Linked DNA regions of Homo sapiens: regions 1 and 3 are each linked to region 2. The links are contacts of gene promoters, found by promoter capture Hi-C in human tissues and cell types (Jung and others, 2019). All regions are on one chromosome and are shown on one strand. Each heading gives the region's core, a stretch centred on a gene start or on the middle of the fragment in contact. The rest is flanking DNA. Distances are from core to core; before and after follow the strand shown. Region 1 overlaps ATRIP (ATR interacting protein). Region 2 holds the start of SPINK8 (serine peptidase inhibitor Kazal type 8 (putative)). Region 3 overlaps PLXNB1 (plexin B1).

Region 1 (2,757 bases), core at 185-2,684, 130 kb after region 2:
GAGCGAGCCAGGCAGAAGCTATCCATTTATGGCCTAGCCTCAGAAGTCACACAGCATCCCCTCTGCCACATTGTATTTGTTAGAAGCAAATCACTGAGTCTGGGCGTCATTCAAGGGGAGAAACCAAGCTTATACCTTTTTTTTAATTTTTATTTTTTATTTTTATTTTATTATTATACTTTAAATTTTAGGGTACATGTGCACAACGTGCAGGTGTGTTACGTATGTATACATGTGCCATGTTGGTGTGTTGCACCCATTAACTCGTCATTTAGCATTAGGTATATCTCCTAATGCTATCCCTCCCCCCTCCTCCCAAGCTTATACCTTTTGAAGGGGAGTTGTGTCAAAGCATTTGTGGGCCTTTTTTTTTTTTTTTTTGAGGCGGAGTCTCACCCTGTCACCCAGGCTGGAGTGCAATGGCACGATCTCAGCTCACTGCAACTTCCGCCTCCCGGGTTCAAGTGATTCTCCTGCCTCAGACTCCCGAATAGCTGGGATTACAGGCACCTGCCATCATGCTTGTGGGCATATTTTTAAACCATCACAGCATCAATTGACCATGCCAAAAACCTAGCTAGTATGCAGGAATCTGTTTTTCTTTTCTTGTTTTTTTTTTTTTTCTTTGAGGCGGAGTCTCACTCTGTCACCAGGCTGGAGTGCAGTGGCGTGATCTCGGCTCACTGTAACCTCTGCCTCCCATGTTCAAGCGATTCTCCTGCCTCAGCCTCCCGAGTAGCTGGGACTACAGGCATGCGCCACCACACCCAGCTAATTTTTGTATTTTTAGTAGAGACAGGTTTCACCATGTTGGCCTGGATGGTCTCAATCTCATGACCTCGTGATCCACCCACTTCAGCCTCCCAAAATGCTGGGATTACAGGCATGAGCCACCGTGCCCAGCCTCTGTTTTCCTTTTGTAGTCCAGCTTTTGAGTTTTTATAACTCAGTCCAGATTGAGGGGATCTGCTGTTTTTTAGAGAGAGACAATCTAACATCAGTAGGTTTTCAGACTGCTATGTCAGTGTATCTTATAAATCGGATACATTGACCCTCTTCTTACCATCAACCTTTCAAATCCTTGGCCATCATAACACTTCTGAGAAACTGTAGCCCACTTACATTTTTGGCATCTAGCAGCTAAAGGGGCAGTGTACAGTAGTGTTACAAGCAGGCAGTAGAGCCCAGTAGCCTGGATGTGAGTCCCAGTAATGCTGTTAACTGGCTTATATGATTTGGGCAAGTCCTTTAGTCTCTGTGCCTCAGTTTCCCTATATGTAAAACAGACCTAATGATAAATCCTTGTAGGGTCACTGAGGAACAAATGGGCTGATGCGTATAGAGCTCTTAAAACACTGTCTAGCACGTAACAAGCACCATGTCAATGTTAGTGGTCACTGTTTTATCTAATTGCCTCATTTTGAGTGAGGCAAACAGCTTGATTTTCTTTTCCTTTCCTTGTATGAGTTCCTGTTTTACATAAGGAAGGTAAAAGATGCAGGGCTCTTGAGCCGCTTTGGCTCTTGTTTGTTCCAAGTTCGAAGAAGTAGAACAGCGTGTGTTTTAAACTCATTGCATGTAAAAGTTTCTAATATGCCCATGCTTCTGGGCTCAAGTTTTGATTTACATTTTATCACATTTCAGATAGTAAGCCCCACAGTCTGAGAGGTGACTCCATAAAACAAGAAGAGGCCCAGAAAAGCTTTGTTGACAGCTGGAGACAGAGATCAAACACTCAAGGTACCAGAATCCCTGCTTCTCCTGCAGGGGCCTGCATGGCTCTGAGTAATATGCAGAAGAATTGCCCAGGCCTCTGAGAACCGGTGCCCCGGGCAGTCCTTCAGAGAGTCCAGGGAAGTCAAAGTATGTGGCTTAAGCAGAAGACTTTATAAAGTGGAAAGGGCCAAGGGCAGGTATGTCCCAGAGCCTTCCGCACCCACAGGCATCTTCCTGGGGCTTAGTGGCAGCCTAGAGGACAGTTGGCATCCAAAGAATCCTTACTGTTTCCTTCTGAAAGCCACCGAAAAGATCTCCCATGTCAGAACCTTCTAGAGTCATCTTGTCTTCTGCAGGTTCCATTTTGATAAACCTGCTCCTGAAGCAGCCTTTGATCCCAGGGTCATCCCTAAGCCTTTGCCACCTCCTGAGTAGTAGTTCTGAGTCTCCTGCTGGCACCCCCCTGCAGCCACCAGGGTTTGGCAGGTAAGCATAAGACTCCTGGAAAGCTTGTTTGGGAAGGAGCTTCCTGGAAGCAAATTCCTTTCTGGCCCTGGCCAGCCTGAGAAGTCTGTGGGAAGGGCAGGCAGCCTGGAGAATTTGGCAGGCAGGCTGTTTGGGGCTCTTGACCTTATCTCCATCCCACACTTAATCTATTTTTCTTTGTGTTTGTTGCCAGTACCTTGGCTGGAATGTCAGGCCTCAGGACCACAGGTTCTTATGATGGGTCATTTTCCCTCTCAGCCCTGAGAGAAGCACAGAACCTGGCATTCACTGGACTGAATCTGGTTGCCCGGAATGAGTGCTCACGTGATGGAGACCCAGCAGAGGGAGGCAGAAGGGCCTTCCCACTCTGCCAGCTTCCTGGAGCCGTGCATTTCCTCCCCCTTGTACAGTTCTTCATCGGCTTACACTGCCAGGCCCTGCAGGACTTGGCAGCTGCTAAGAGAAGCGGAGCACCTGGGGACTCACCGACACATTCCTCCTGCGTGAGCTCTGGGGTAGAGACCAACCCTGAGGACTCAGTGTGCATCCTGGAAG
Region 2 (3,692 bases), core at 81-2,580:
TTTTTCTAATGTCTGCAGCTGAGTGATAAACTTACCCTTTAAGATTAGTTGGCCTTCAATAGATCCAGATGACAGAGAGGTATGCTTCCTCAATGCCTCCCTTAGTCTCTCCAGAAAGGCAGTAGGATTTTCTTCCTTTCCCTGTGTTATAGTGGGCATCATTGAATAATTCATAGGCTTCTTCCTAGTTTTTCTTAGTCCTTCTAGCATGCAAGTTAGCAAATGTCTGCGGCACCAATCTCCACATTCTGATTCTGCGTCCCATTGAGGGTCTACACTGGGAACTGCCTGCTGGCCTGTGGGGAATCGTTCTCTTTCCTCTGTTGTCATCCTATCATTGACCTGACTGAGATACCAGAGATTGCCAAACTCTTGGGCTGCAGTTATAGCGGCACTTCTCTCATTTGGGGTTAGTATCTGATCTAGCAGTAACATTATGTCTCTCCATGTCAGATCAAAGGATTGTCCTAACCCTTGTAAAACATCAATATAGCCATCAGGGTTATTTGAGAATTTACCTAGGTCTATTTTAATTTGCTTCAAGTCTGAGAGGGAAAAAGGTACACACACTCTGGGCTGAATTCTCCTCCTCCCACCACTTCAAGGGGGCATAATCTGGGAATATTGGCACTCTTTGGTTCATTGTTTACCCCTTTCTCTATCTCCTTTGGCACCGTTTGTGTTGAAGGGGGGTCATTATTAGTTGGGGAAGGAGCCGGGGGAACGCCGGGGCAGGGGGGTAGATTCTGAGGGCTTCCTGTAGGGCATAAATCACACTTTTAACATAATTGTGAGTTGTCTCTTAATGAAAAGAAAGTTTGCACATATGGCACTTCGCTCCATTTGCCCTATTTTCTACAAAAGAAGTCTAGCTGTAAGATGGTGTTATAATTTATACTTCCCTTGGAGGGCATGTTTCTCCCTCTTGAAGAGGATATTGTGGCCAGGGGTACTGCAGAAGAATATAAGTCGTTTCTTTCTTAGCATCTGAGGGTCAAATTGGTCCTAATTCTCTAGAATACATCTTAGGGGCGTTTTTGCCTGGGAGGGGGGAACGTTTAAAAAGAACATAGGGATGCCAGCACCCCTAGTCATTTTCTGATGAGCATTAGTCCTAGAGCGTCCTCTGTGGTCCTAATGCTTATTCCTTTTCAGGGTGCGTAACCACCCACGGACCTCTGCTTATCAGATTAGTTACACTCACCGATGTAGCAGTCCTGCACCTGTTTTCCTGCCCTTCTTGACCACAAAGAAAGGGGTCTGGGCTGCTGGATTCTAGTGGTCCTTTACCAGCGTGCCTGACATTGCCTTTGCACTCAGGAGTGAGTTCTAGAGCTGGGCTGGGTTTCTGAGTATTTCATAACAACCCAGTTGCCCCATCAAGATGCATTTTCATAAACAACAGTTCTTATGCAAATTCGTTTCAGAGAGGGTGTAGGTAACCTTTTGAGTCAGGATTGAGATAGAGTTTTTGCCCACTAGGGCCTTTGTCCTTTTCCTTTGTAGGAATATGCCTTAATTATCGAACTTAAGATTTTGTTGCCCTGGATTAAGTCCTTTTGGGTACGAAATATGAGAGATGGCTCCTGTTTATCCTATGTGCCTTTTTCCTACGAGAAGGAGAGCGAGGAGAAAAAGATGGGCTTGCTCTTTTTGTAAGTACTTTAAGGCTTGGCTGAGTGCAAACAGCTCGCAGTTTGTGCAGACCAATTATGAGGCAATTCTCCTAACTCTGCTTCCACAAGAGTTTCCTTATCAATTACTGAATACCCATTGTGGTTTTTTCCTCAATCGCCTGGGAGGAACCATCTATCGTCCTATCCTAAAGGAAGTTCCTCCTAGGTCTGGTTGGACCTTTGCATGGCAATTAAGATTTAAATCCCCTGTTAGGAAATCTGCTGGGTTAAGGGAATTATCAGTGGTTGGTGTTAAATCACCTTTTTCTAACAGAATAGCCCCATACTTTAAGAATTTTGAGCTAGTAAGCTACCTTTTTTTTTTTTTTTTTTTGGTCTTAGGATTGTTCTGAACTGGTGAGGTGTGCTCACAATGAGGTTTCCTCTAAAGGTTATTTTTCTACTTTATTCTGTTAGCAAAGCAGTTGCCACTACAGATTGAATGCATTTGGGCCATCCACGGGTTACTGGGTTCAGGATTTTTGATAGGAAGGCTATGGGTTGTCAGTGGTCTCAGTGTTTTCGGGCTACGCCCTTGTTTACACTGACAACAAGGTAGTATTGGAGTATTATAGGGTCGTGGAGAAGACCTTTAATTATCAATTATAGGTTCTAAATTTACCTTGGCTTTTAAAGGAATAGGGTACACTGTTTTTTCTTTACTACCTCTCTCTTTCCCTTTTTTCTTTCTTTCTCTCTTTGACTTTCTGCCTCTTCCTCTCTCTGTCTGTCTTTTTTTAGATGGATTTTGGAAACGCAGTGGAAGGACGTTCACTTGTTGCCCCAGTTTGCCACTATAGGAACATGTGCCTCCCTTTAATTTACTCAAATTCGTTTTCATCCTGATCTATTATGTTGTTGTAGACTCAGTTCCAGTTGTTAAAATACTGGGTTATCAGTTCTAAGGGCCTGGCCAAGGAGCCAAGGCTTGGAGATTGTATTGCAGGGGGTAGTAAACTGGGTAGAAATTAGGGGAGGAGAGCATCTTACACAATGGGAGAGCGATCTTCCTAGCTATTTACAAACTTGGGGCCCTGGCAAGGGTGGTGGGGAATGGGTCCCACATAACAGCCCATGTTGACAGCTATATACCTAAATTGGGAGGGACACCAGGGGCAAGACTCCCTGGGTTCATAGCCTAGATATCTAAGGCCACAGCATAGAGCTTCCTTAGATCTCTTTGGAGATACAACTTGCTCTAATACTTGGGAGAGGAAATGAAAGTCTGAAGCATTAGTACCTAGGAGGCAGGGATTGGAGGAAGTAGATTCAGAGGTAAGGAGAATTTTTGGGGCTACACTTTCAAGAAAGTCATGGTCGGGACCCAGGAGGTATGGGTCAGAAGGAAAGGTAGGGGTGCACACGTGGGCAACTGTTGAGTAGAGACTTCTGGCTGCACCATGATCTCAACCAGCCAATGCCGGGAGTTCAGGACGACAGCTTTCTGCCTCTAGTCGGCCCTCGGCTTCCCCCCAGGAAATTGTGAAAGCGGAAGCTGGTTCCAGGCAGACCAACGCTCCTAACCCCAAAGGGTTGGGGGTTGTTAGAAAGCCTTTTCCCAGAAAGCCTCACAGCTGAGTCTTAAGTCCAGTGGCCATGCTAATCATTTTTAACTGGCTGACAGGTGCCCGGTATTTCCTCTGATTCTAAGGAAGGATAGGACAGGATAGCAAGCTAAAGTGGTTCAATATTACTCACCACTTTGGAGAATACCTGTACGGGCCAACAGCTGTTACCAGGCAGGTCTTTGTTCTTAGAGCTCCTGAGATGGTGGCAGGCCGCTCCCAAGATGGCGGCAAGCCTTTTGTTCTCTGACCTGGGGTTCTTGGCCTCACGGATTCCAAGGAATGGAAACTTGGGACATGCAGTGAGTGTTATAGCTCTATTAGAAGCCGTCGGTCACGGAAGAGAACCCTGGAACCCAGCGACTAGTGTTTAGCTCGATTAGGATGAACCCAGGCACTTAGCCATGCAGGGACAATGGCGAGCCTCTAGCCTGATTGGGAGTGGCAATGG
Region 3 (3,576 bases), core at 387-2,886, 80 kb after region 2:
GGTGTATGGGACATGACGCACACTGGGGAAGGGGACAGGACATGGGCTTAAGGGGACTGAGGACAGGCTGAGCAGGAGTCTCTGCTCTGGCACAAGTGTCCGAGCTGCATGGTGGCTGAGGGCTTAGAAGTTTGGAGGGCCTGACCCTCCCTGGACAGGAGCCCTGTCCACCTCTGCCCCCTCACCCTCACGAAGGTATACAGACAGATGGACATCCAGTTGGTGAGCAGCTTCTCCACCACAGTCTCTGTCCTGAGATGATGGGAAAGGGGAGTGCCAGGGTCAGCAGGTGGGGCTGCGGGCCTCTCTATCCTGCAGACCCCCCAGCCCGAGGCCCCACCCCAGCTCCAGCTGTCCAGGGCCCACCCAGCCCCAACAGCCACACAGACCTGCGCAGCATCAGCTTGGGGTTCTTGGCCACATACTGGGCAACCAGGTCACTGAGCAGAGTGCGGAGGATGTCAGTGAAATACTCAAGCTTCCCATGCAGTGCCACGGTGAGCAGAGATGCCACGTAGGCACGGTCCCGAGCTGAAAAGGTGCGCTGGCTCTCCAGCGTGTGGATGAACTGCAGCCAAAGAGAAGGGATGGGAAAAGGGGTTTAGGGGGACAGAGGGGCGGGCTCAGAAACCATGCCCTGGAGAAGGGGCAGGGCCAGGGGCAGGCCAGGAAGATGCAGCTGGGGGTACCTTGGTGAGGAAGAGCTTGCTGTTGAGCAGGTTAGAGAGCTGCCCCAGCCCTTGCTCCACAGTGGGCCGTCTGCTCTCAGGCACACCCAGGTCCCGGTGCAAGGGCGACTCGCGGTGCCCAGGGAAGAAGATCCTCTCCGCATACACCTTGTAGTCGAGGAAGGGGATGCCGCTGCCCAGGAGGTCACTGGTGAGATCGGTCATCTCAGTCATGAGGTCTGTTAAGCAGAAGAGGCCAGGTTAAGCACCTGTTAAGCACCAATCCCGTGTGATGGGAGTGGGTTTGGGCAGAGTTCTGGAGGGCGGGGCCCATTCTCTCAGCCACACCTGTGAATTCCTTCTTGCAGCGGTCCCGCACACTGCTCTCCAGATTCTCCAGCTGGATCTGAACCTTCTTATAGTCCCTCAGGGCCTGCTTGCTCTTCCTCCTGCTCAGCCCCAGGGTCAGGAGAGGATGGCCAGATGAGTCCTACTCGCCCAGGCCTGCCTGACAATCCCCAGGCACACCCCGGCCTCATCCAGCACAGTCCAATGCAGCCATGCCAGCCAAGCTCAAGCCTAGCCCAGTACGATTCAGCCTGTCCCGTCCCAAGCAAGTCACACACACCCATGCCCCGTCTAGCCCAGCACAGTTTAGCCTAGAGATCAGCCAACCACAACCAGGCCAAATCCATCCCACAACCTATTTTTATAAAGATTTGTTAGAACACAGCCACTTTCATGTGTTTCCATGTCGTCCCTGGCTGCCTTTGTGCCACAGTGGCAAAGCTGAGTTGTTGAACAGAGACCACTTGGCCTGCAAAGCGAAAATATTTACTCTCTGGCCATTTACAGAGAATGTTTCCTGACTCCTGGCCCGGTCTGTCCCTTCCCAGTCCAGCCAGATCCCACGACCTGCCCCAGCCCAGCCACATCTGGCTGCACCCACCTGTACATGAGGACAATGATGATGACACCCAGAGCCAGAAGAGAGGTGCCCACCCCCAAGCCCACCTGGGCTGCCACAGGAAAAGCCCCAGGGCTCTCGCCGTCATACTGCACGTGACCCAGGGAGAAGCGCAAGTTCCCCATCTGCACCTGTGTCAGGAGCCACCTGTGAGCAAGGGTTTGGCCCAGGTCAATGCCCAGCCCGGCCAGGGACCTGCCCACTGACCGTGAACTCAGGCAAAGAGTCAGGTGCCTCTCGGAGGGCATGGTGCCGTGGCAGGGGCTGCTCCACGGGGGGCTCGCAGTACAGGTGGTGCCGCGTCAGCGTCTTCACCACACAGGGGCCATCCCCTATCATAGCCACCACCTCCTCCTTGGACATTGCAAGGTCCAGGTTCTCCCCCTGGAACAGAGGGTCACCGATCAGTCACTCAGGACCCTTCCCTCAGATCCTGTCCTCCCCAAATGTGGGAAGGACCCTGAGACCCAGCCGCAGCAGCAAAGCTGACAGCCTCTCAGCACCCTTCCCGAGTGCAGGCCAGTCACACGGTGTCCTCCAAGCTGCTCCTCATCACCCTTTGTTGCCCTTTCCTATCTTTCTTCTCCAGAACGAAAAATCTGGAGAACATAAAGCTGCCTCCCAAATCCTGCCCAGCTACCTAACAAAGCTGGAGCCCCCAATCTGTGTCTGATGACTCACCAGGGGGGTGATGATGCTGTATCAACCTGTGGTCTGCCCGCATGCCCATCTGCTGCCCACTGTGTATGTCCAAGACACATGCCTAGCGCATGTCCATGTGAGCCAGGCTGCCAACGGGGGTCAGCCCGATGGCCTATGTGGACCACACCACCCAGCTACTGCACAGGCCGAACATACAAATGCAGTCATTCCAGAGCCTGCCATGGAGTGCATCAGGACCCGGGCCACCAGCCAAGCAGTCCAGCTCGTGCCAGATGCTAGGCTAGGCACCCCCCACCAGCCCCCTCTGCCCCCACCACAGCAAGGATGAGGAGCCATGTCCATCCACCGGCCCTTGCTCTACTGTCTCGGCCTCTCCGCCACACACAGCAGTGCTGTCCAGCCAAGGGAAGGGTCTCGGGGCCCTGCCAGGTCCAAGTAGGAGCTGTACCTCCACGGAGAACACACTCCCAGGCTTGTGCCGGAATGGCATGGTGGGGTCCTCAGGGTTGAGTGGCTGCAGGGTGGGGTCGGCCTCATAGGAGAAAGGTGTGGGGTTCAGTGTTGCAAAGTCAAAGACCAGGTTGTCAAGGATAAATTCCACCCGGACCCAGGGGTCCTCAGGCAGGCCTGGGAGGGCAGGTGTGCGGCACGTGATGAGCTGGGAGGAGTTGACATGGCACGGCTCCTCAAACTGGAAGGAAGACAGGCAGGTTGACGAGGGGCCAAGCAAAGATGGGAAGAGCCTCCTCTGGCACCTGCTCTGGCTGTCCCCAGGGTGTGGTATGGGGCAAGGGGAGAGTGTGGGGGTACCCAAGGGTGTCCTACTTGCTGGCTACTGCAGGAGGGTCCAAGGGAACATGCCGTCTCCGGGACCACGCGACGCCTCCGTCCAAGCCCCTGGCTGGGCTGCAGCATTCTCGAGACCACGGTCACCCGGATTCTTGGCGTCTGTACCACGTCCAGATTCTGGCCACGGACGCATATCTCACGTCCTCCACTGAAACAGACCGTGAGCTTACGTAACGTAAGATGGCTTATGTTACCTGGACCTAAAGCACAGCCCAGTCCCGGCTAGGTCAGCTCAGCCCCAGCCCCAAACCACACGACCCCTTGCCCCTACTAGCAGCATGGGATTCTCAGTGCCTCAACATAAAGCCCTACAAACCCCCACATAGTGGAGCTGCAAAGACCTCCCTGCCACCTGCCATGCAGCCACACCCCTGGCCCAACACCTGAGGAAGCTCTTGGTGGGGCCAGCAGAGGTGATGTTGGGGTCCA

What was found. Contacts are between HindIII fragments. The study calls those that stand out against the background at their distance.
Region 1: a contact is called between a fragment that was not itself captured here and the fragment with the promoter of SPINK8 in region 2, in 3 of the 25 tissues and cell types used here (IMR-90 fibroblasts, liver and thymus).
Region 3: a fragment that was not itself captured here is called in contact with the fragment with the promoter of SPINK8 in region 2 in 2 of the 25 tissues and cell types used here (IMR-90 fibroblasts and aorta).

Annotation. Positions count from the first base shown.
Region 1 is chr3:48,457,715-48,460,471 of GRCh38, forward strand. ATRIP (ATR interacting protein) reads left to right here. Exons shown (of 13, transcript NM_130384.3): 6 at 1,645-1,740; 7 at 2,073-2,202; 8 at 2,396-2,757. ATRIP-TREX1 (ATRIP-TREX1 readthrough) reads left to right here. Exons shown (of 15, transcript NR_153405.1): 6 at 1,645-1,740; 7 at 2,073-2,202; 8 at 2,396-2,757. Among named protein-coding and RNA genes, the nearest start is that of TREX1, 7.1 kb to the right of the region's middle. The HindIII fragment of the contact is 6,156 bases long and covers 1-2,757 here.
Region 2 is chr3:48,332,331-48,336,022 of GRCh38, forward strand. It overlaps SPINK8 (serine peptidase inhibitor Kazal type 8 (putative)), which reads right to left and starts at 1,331. Exons shown (of 8, transcript NM_001080525.3): 1 at 1,205-1,331; 2 at 36-141. RefSeq lists a silencer at 1,676-1,876. The HindIII fragment of the contact is 10,965 bases long and covers 1-3,668 here.
Region 3 is chr3:48,412,053-48,415,628 of GRCh38, forward strand. It overlaps PLXNB1 (plexin B1), which reads right to left. Exons shown (of 38, transcript NM_001130082.3): 19 at 3,531-3,576; 20 at 3,124-3,295; 21 at 2,747-2,989; 22 at 1,843-2,019; 23 at 1,618-1,766; 24 at 1,017-1,117; 25 at 690-907; 26 at 390-568; 27 at 186-252. Among named protein-coding and RNA genes, the nearest start is that of PLXNB1, 16 kb to the right of the region's middle. The HindIII fragment of the contact is 6,083 bases long and covers 1-3,576 here.